Regions from separate parts of the Homo sapiens genome. Here region 1 is linked to region 2. Evidence: promoter capture Hi-C in human tissues and cell types (Jung and others, 2019). All regions are on one chromosome and are shown on one strand. The core of a region is centred on a gene start or on the middle of the fragment in contact, and the rest is flanking DNA. Distances in the headings are between cores, read along the strand shown.

What was found. Contacts are between HindIII fragments. The study calls those that stand out against the background at their distance.
Region 1: a contact is called between a fragment that was not itself captured here and the fragment with the promoter of ACTL10 in region 2, in 2 of the 25 tissues and cell types used here (bladder and thymus).

The regions. Positions count from the first base shown.
Region 1 is chr20:33,997,871-34,001,361 of GRCh38, forward strand. All of the region lies in intron 1 of RALY (RALY heterogeneous nuclear ribonucleoprotein), which reads left to right. Among named protein-coding and RNA genes, the nearest start is that of RALY-AS1, 5.2 kb to the left of the region's middle. RefSeq lists an enhancer at 921-1,421. The HindIII fragment of the contact is 3,140 bases long and covers 527-3,491 here.
Region 2 is chr20:33,665,692-33,669,287 of GRCh38, forward strand. ACTL10 (actin like 10) reads left to right here and starts at 1,252. Exons shown (of 1, transcript NM_001024675.2): 1 at 1,252-2,834. The coding sequence starts at 1,807. The coding sequence ends at 2,544. All of the region lies in intron 5 of NECAB3 (N-terminal EF-hand calcium binding protein 3), which reads right to left. RefSeq lists enhancers at 945-1,164, 1,975-2,054 and a silencer at 1,295-1,624. The HindIII fragment of the contact is 10,203 bases long and covers 1-3,596 here.

The DNA of each region.
Region 1 (3,491 bases), core at 847-3,346, 330 kb after region 2:
ATGATCATGTGTCTGGTCATGTCACACTCTCCTTAAAAATCTGATGGCCCCAACATTGCCTGCATATTAAAGTTCAAACAAATATGACCCATGAGGTCAGTGTGTTGAATTTATTGAATAGAATCTTGTAGTTGAGGGACCTTACAGTCATTTAGACCAGCCACCTGGCTGACATTTGAGTTGGTTACTTGTTGAGATTGTCTTTCTTTGGATACCTCATTTTTGGAAAGTTTTTCATTCACTGAAGAATTAATGAGCCTCTGTTAGACCTGGTGCTACGCTTAGGGATTTGGGTTTGTATAGCGTAGTGGGAAAGATAGGCAAGGAAACAGGCAGTGTGAGAAGTGTTGTCACAGGGACAGACACCAGGAGAGCACAGAAAAATGATGCCTAACCCAGCATTGGAAGGTCAGGGAAGGCTTTTTAGGAGGAGAAGTTGGTTAAGCCTAGCCCTCAAGAGAACAGACATAAGCCAGGAAAAGAAGAGATCTGGGGAGTCAGGGAAGAGGCAGAGATAAGACTGTTCTAGGTAGAAGGAACAGTAAGTTCAGAAATGGTGATAATAGGTTAAGACCATCCCGAAAGTACGTACTGTTACTATTCCCATTCTGTAGTTGAAGGAAACGGGCCAAGAGAGCTAAACAAATTTCTCAGGATTCTTGGGTGGAGCATAATGCTTGAGGTGGGTGGATATGGCCAGACAGGAGACTTTCAAGGTAGGCAGAGCAGAGGCCAAGTCAGGAAAGGGCCTTCTTGCCTGTGTTGAGGAGTTTGGACTTCATCCGGAGGTGAGGGGGCCATGATTCAATGTGCATTTTGGAAGGATATCTCTGGCTGCCTGTTCAGGAGCGGACTGGAGAGCTAGAACACTGTGGGCAGAGAGACCAGTTAGGAGGTTGGCAAGAGGTGATGGTGTTTCAAATGAAGGTTGTGGGAGAGCGTGTGCAAGAGTGTGTGCAGAAAAAAGATGGAATTGCTGGGCGTGGTGGCTCACGTTTGTAGTCCTAGCACTTTGGGAGGCTGAGGTGGGTGGATCACCTGAGGTCAGGAGTTTGAGACTAGCCTGGCCAACGTGGTGAAACCCCGTCTCTACTAAAAATAAAAAAAAAATTAGTCGGGTGTGGTGGCAGGCACCTGTAATCCCAGCTATGTGGGAGGCTAAGGCAGGAGAATCACTTGAACCTGGGAGGTGGAGGTTGCAGTGAGCTGAGATCGAACCACTGCACTCCAGCCTGGGTGTGAGACTCCATCTCAAAAAAAAAAAAAAAAAAGGAAAGAAAAAAGGTGGAATTGAGTGATGAGACAAAGATTATTGGTGTGGAGGGTAAGGAAGGAATCGGGATGACATCTGGTTTCTACCTGGTGCAGTTTTGTAAATGGGTGCTGTTTATTGAGGTGAGGACACAGGAGAAGAAGGAGCACGTAAGGGAGGGGGTAGGGTTTCTTATGCAGGGTCTCCTTACATATGCTTTCACTTACCTCTGGTTATGGATTCTAGTTCTTTGTGTCAGGTCTGAAAGGGAGAGAGTGAGAGTATGGCACAACTGGTCATGTTCCTGGCTAAACTGGATGATGCAAACATTAGTTTAGGAAGAGAGGAGATATTCAATCCTAGACATCCGGGTGTGGCACAGCCTGGAAACTGCTTACGTTAAGCCAAGAAAAGTTTACATTTTATCCAGGCTACATCCTTTGGCACTGGTCTTTTCGTGTACTAGTGTATTCCTAAGTCCCTCTCTAAGCCGAAGCCACTTCTCTGCTTACTCTCTGCTAGGCACTGGGAAAACAAAGATAAGTAAAACGTATCCTAAGGAGCTCATGATCCAGAAGGGCAGAAGTCTCAGTAGCTTGGATACAGCGGTGGCCTGGGGAGAGGGTGGATGGGGCAGGGCAGGGTAGGACAGGATGGAGAGGGACCCGGAAGGGTTTCTATTAGGGATAGGAGTCAGGAGACCCCACTGTGTGCTCCAGTCTTTTTCTCGGGTGGCACGTGTCTAGGTTTATTCATCTGAATAATGACTAGATGACCCATAAGGTCCCTTCTAGCAATTACATTTTATGATTCTAGGTGGTGGTTTAGATAATATATCTCTAGGAGAGGTATTTCTTTCTTCTTCTCCCCCTTCTTAGTTTGGCATTGGTGAGGGGATATAGTAGGGGTGGAGATAGCAAGGTTTTCACTTGAGTGTCTTGGTCTTATTCAATTTTGGCTTCATGTCTATATAGCTGGAAGGGAGAAAATGACAGCCGTAATGTTAACCTGCTTGTCCTACAACTTCCCCCTGGGTACTGTAAGGAAATTGTGCTCAGGGTGCAGCTCACAGACCCTTAGGAATAGAGACAGAGTGCAGTGGAATAAATAGGAAGTCTTGTCACTAGCCTGAGCATCGTTTGGTCAGTGTGTGGGCTGGACTAAGGTCCTTTCTTTTTATAGCCCTGTTTCCTCATAAAATCATCTGGGGGGGTCCCTGAAATTCTATAAAGGCCCAAAGAGTGGGGGTGGGGAGGTAGGGACAGAAAAAGGGTTGGAGGTCCCTGTCTCTCTCACTTCTCCCCTCTCTTCGAACGAATAAGTAGAAGCAGGTATCTGGCCAAGTATTAATGTTGGTCATCTTTTGTTTCCACAGCCTTGCCTTATTTCCTCAGTGTTAGTGTCTTCTGTCATTTCATAATGGCTTTCATGGTAATCAATGTCCTGTACCTCCTGGGAGGAAGGAAGGAAAGATGGGATATTGTCCCTGGGCTCTAGTCTCCATCTCCAGAAGAGCCATTTAAGACATCCACTGCCCCCTGTTCTCTATTCTGGGGTTGGGGTAGGGGGTTGTGGCTGAATACTTGGGTTTCTTAGAGGGTACATACTTGAGTTTCCTAGGGAGTGCTCTACTAACTAAAGTGCAAATCTGGCTATCTTCCCAACACACCAATGAGTTTGACTGGGGAAAATAGCAGTCAGTGGGCTTTTGTTGCTTGCCAAACCCATGTTAATTGTAATTATCTAATATTCTGTGGGATCTCTGTCTTCCTGTCTGTGAAACAAGGGAATTGGACTAGATAATCTTGAGTGATATTTCTACCTTTTTACAGTTTTGTGGAAGTGGCTTGAGAATTTATCTCTGGAAGGAGAAAGGGCTTTGCTAAAGTATTGAGAGTATCTCAGAGGGTTAAATTCTGGGTTCACAAAAGATACCTTTCAGTATATAAACAGATGGATATTGCTTTTTAGAGTGGACAGATTGCTGAAAAATTGCTTGTGAGATGAATTTATCAAATTGTATGCTGAGTTCCATTATAAACTTGGAGCTGTAGCCTCATGGGACAAACTTGGAGTCCAAGACTATAAAAAAATTACATTAAAATATGTAGCAAACTGTTTAAAATCACATAATAAAGGAAAAATAAAAAACATTTTAAGATTTTCACACAATGGTAATAATGGAAAAACACTAGACCAGAAACTTGCATTTCCTAAGAGCTTTAGCTTATGGAGTAGA
Region 2 (3,596 bases), core at 2-2,501:
TTTCCTGTGTGGGGGGATTATTACTACCTTTTGGAGGAGAAAACCGAACCCAGAGAAAGATCAAGACTTGCTTAGGACTGCACAGTGAGTCAGCTTCAGAACTGAGTCTTGCTGGGTGCGGTGGCTCACACCTGTAATCCTAGCACTTTGGGAGTCCAAGGCAGGTGGATCACCTGAGGTCAGGAGTTCGAGACCAGCCTGGCCAACGTGGCGAAACCCTGTCTCCACTAAAAATACAAAAATTAGCCGCGTATGGTGGTGCATGCCTGTAGTCCCAGCTACTCAGGAGGCTGAGGCAGGAGAATCACTTGAACTCGGAAGGCAGAGGTTGCACTGAGCTGAGATTGCAACGCTGCACGCCCAGCCTGGGTGACCGAGACTCCGTCTCAAAAATAATAATAATAAAAAAAAGAACTGAGTCTCAAACTGAGGCCCACGTGAATCCATCCGTGGAAGCCCATAAAGGTAGGGCCAGAGCCTCTCGGGGGCTCTTCAGGGAAGCTGCAGATCTGTGATGAAAAAGCTTTTTCTTCAGCACTGGGAGGGGTAGGGGGCCACACATCTGGACAGAGTACATCAGATAATTCTAAGTGGTTTGGGAAAGGAATCAGACTGTGCTGGGCTGCTGAAGCCAGACCCCTGGATGCCAAAATCACTGCCCTTGGCTCTGTCCAGAAGAGAGGATGGGTCCAGGGAGTTGTCATAAGGTAGGGAGCTGCGAAGTGCAGCTGCTGGGGAGTGAGGTCACAATGAGCCCAATCCAAGTTCTTTTCTGCCTTCTGACCAGCCCCTCCCCTCTCCACAACCAGGAACTTCCGTCAAGCCCAGGTGAGAGGTGCCAGGAGGCTGCCTGGGTCCTCAAGGGGGATATATGTCCAAATGGCCTTACCACAAGGCCCCTTCGCCCTCAAAGTTCTGCTCCTCCCGGGGGCTTCTTAGGATCTAAAAGGATCAGTCCTAGCCATCTCGTCAGCCATCTCAGCAAGGGCTGACGGGGCGGAACAGCAAAGCAGAGGCGGGTCCTGAGAGCGTGGAGCCTGAAGCCCGGCGCCAGAGGGAGACCAAGAGGGTGAGATGCGGCTGGAACCCAGCCAGAGCGGAGACTGAAGCCTGAACTAGGGGCCGGGCCTCAGGCCTAGGAACTAGCCACGAGCTGAAAAGGAGGCGGATGGCCCGGACAGAAGAGGCGGGGCTTTCAGACCAGAGGGCGGAGCCAAGAGCTGAAAAGGGTGGTGATTTGGTCCAGAAGAGGAAGAACTTAGGCTCCGGAGGCAGAGCCAAAGGCTGAAGGGGACTACTCCCTAGGACAGAGGCCGGGAGGTATCGGGCCGACGAAGCCGAGTGGCGCGGAGGAGCGGAGCCTTCAGCCCCGCGGCTGGGCCGAGCCCGAAGGTGGCGTCGGTGTCGGGGAGCCGCCGCGTGCACCGGCCGTCCTCCCTGGGCCGCATCGCGGTGGTGGTGGACCAGGGCTCGGGCTTCACCAAGGCGGGCTTCGCGGGCGAGAACCAGCCGCGCATAGTGCTGAAGAGCTCTAGCTTGGTGCCCAGCTGGGACCGGCCGGTGCTGCCCGGAGCGCCGGGCTGCGAGCTGGCGGGCGGCGTGGCGCGGGCGCACCCCATCAAGCACGGCGTGGTGGCGGACTGGGAGGCGCTGGAAGGGCTGTGGGAGCGCCTGCTGGTGGGCGGCCTGCGGGTGTGCCCAGAGCAGTGGCCCGTGCTGGTGAGCGACTCGCCGTTGGCGCCGCCCGCGGGCCGCGAAAGGGTGGCGGAGCTGCTGTTCGAGACCCTGGCAGTGCCCGCGTGCCACATGGCTAGCACCGCGTTGCTGGCGCTCTGCTCCACCGGCGCGTTCAGCGGGCTGGCCGTGGAGGCGGGCGCGGGCGTGTGCCACGCCACGCCCATCTACGCGGGTCACTCGTGGCACCAGGCCACCTTCCGACTGAACGTGGCAGGCAGCACCCTGTCGCGCTACCTGCGGGATCTGCTGGTGGCGGCGAACCCTGACCTCTTGCAGCAGGCCCTGCCCCGCAAGGCCATCACACATCTCAAGAAGCGCAGCTGCTACGTGTCCCTGGACTTCGAGGGCGACCTCCGCGACCCCGCCCGCCACCATCCGGCCAGTTTCAGCGTGGGTAACGGGTGCTGCGTCTGCCTCAGCAGTGAGCGCTTCCGCTGCCCCGAACCCATCTTCCAGCCGGGCCTGCTGGGCCAGGCTGAGCAGGGGCTGCCCGCGCTGGCCTTCCGGGCGCTGCAGAAGATGCCCAAAACGCTGCGGACACGCCTGGCAGACACCGTGGTGCTAGCCGGCGGCTCCACACTGTTTCCTGGCTTCGCCGAGCGCCTGGACAAGGAGCTGGAGGCGCAGTGCCGGCGGCACGGCTACGCGGCCCTGCGGCCCCACCTGGTGGCCAAGCATGGGCGTGGCATGGCTGTGTGGACCGGCGGCTCCATGGTGGCCTCCCTGCACTCCTTCCAGCGCCGCTGGATAACTCGGGCCATGTACCAGGAGTGTGGCTCCAGGCTGCTGTACGATGTGTTCAACTGAGTCAGGCTGGACTGGGGGGGGTGGCACTGCGTTGGGGGACAGCTCTCTATCTAAAGAGTCAAGTGTTTGGAGCTGGCAGGGTCCTCCTGGAGGTTGGAGCTGACTGGATGGGTCACCCCCATACCCTTTCTGGGCCAGGAGAAGGTATTTGGGACCCATGGGACCCTCATTTTGAACTGCAGTTTGAATCTCCCCAACCACTGCCAGTTCAGAGAATGCCAGTCCAGCTGCCTACCCACAGGGCCCTACTTTATGGCAATAAAGGTGATGCCCCACTTGTGTCCATGCCACAGATATGGGAGTTCCTCCAAACCCTCGTCATGTACCATTTGGACATACATCCGATGCCAGGCCCCAAGGGGCGATCCCTTGAAAAGCTACTAAATCTCATGTGAAAGTCACCAGGAGGAGGAGCCCTGTGCCTAGCCATGTGCTCAGGTCATTGTTGACTATGAGTGCCTCAGTTTCCCCTTCTGTAAAAAGTGGGGTCAGGCACAATCCCGGGCCTGCTCACTGCTCCCTCCCCCTTACAAGAGCTATGGAGCAAAGGGAGGTGGAGATATTTCTTGAACACACAAAGGGAAGGGCAGCTTATTTTTTGGAAGTCACCACTCAAGGGCCTCAAGCCCTGGCTATCAGCACTGTTCGAGCTTGTGTATACACGTGTCCACACAAACGCGTGGGTGTTCACGTACCTGCCTACTCACGTATGTCCTCGGGCCAGGCCCTGCCCTGTGAACCTGTGAGCACAGCCTTCCACGCCTAGCCCAGCCCTGAATGATATCCCACCACAGTTGTGATGGGCCAGCAACTAAAGCAACAGCAGCCCCTAGTATGAAGCACCCAGTGTATGCCAGACATTATTCTGGGTGCTGGAAACAGAATAAAACAGACAAAAATCCCTGCCTTCGTTCTCACTGGTCACAGTGATGTATGAAGGGCAGCTCTATTGTTATGATGGTTTACAGATGAGGAAACAGGCCCAGAGAGGTCAAGGGGCACAGCTACAAAGTGGGAGCCAGGATTTGAACCCAAGCCCCTAGCTCTATAAC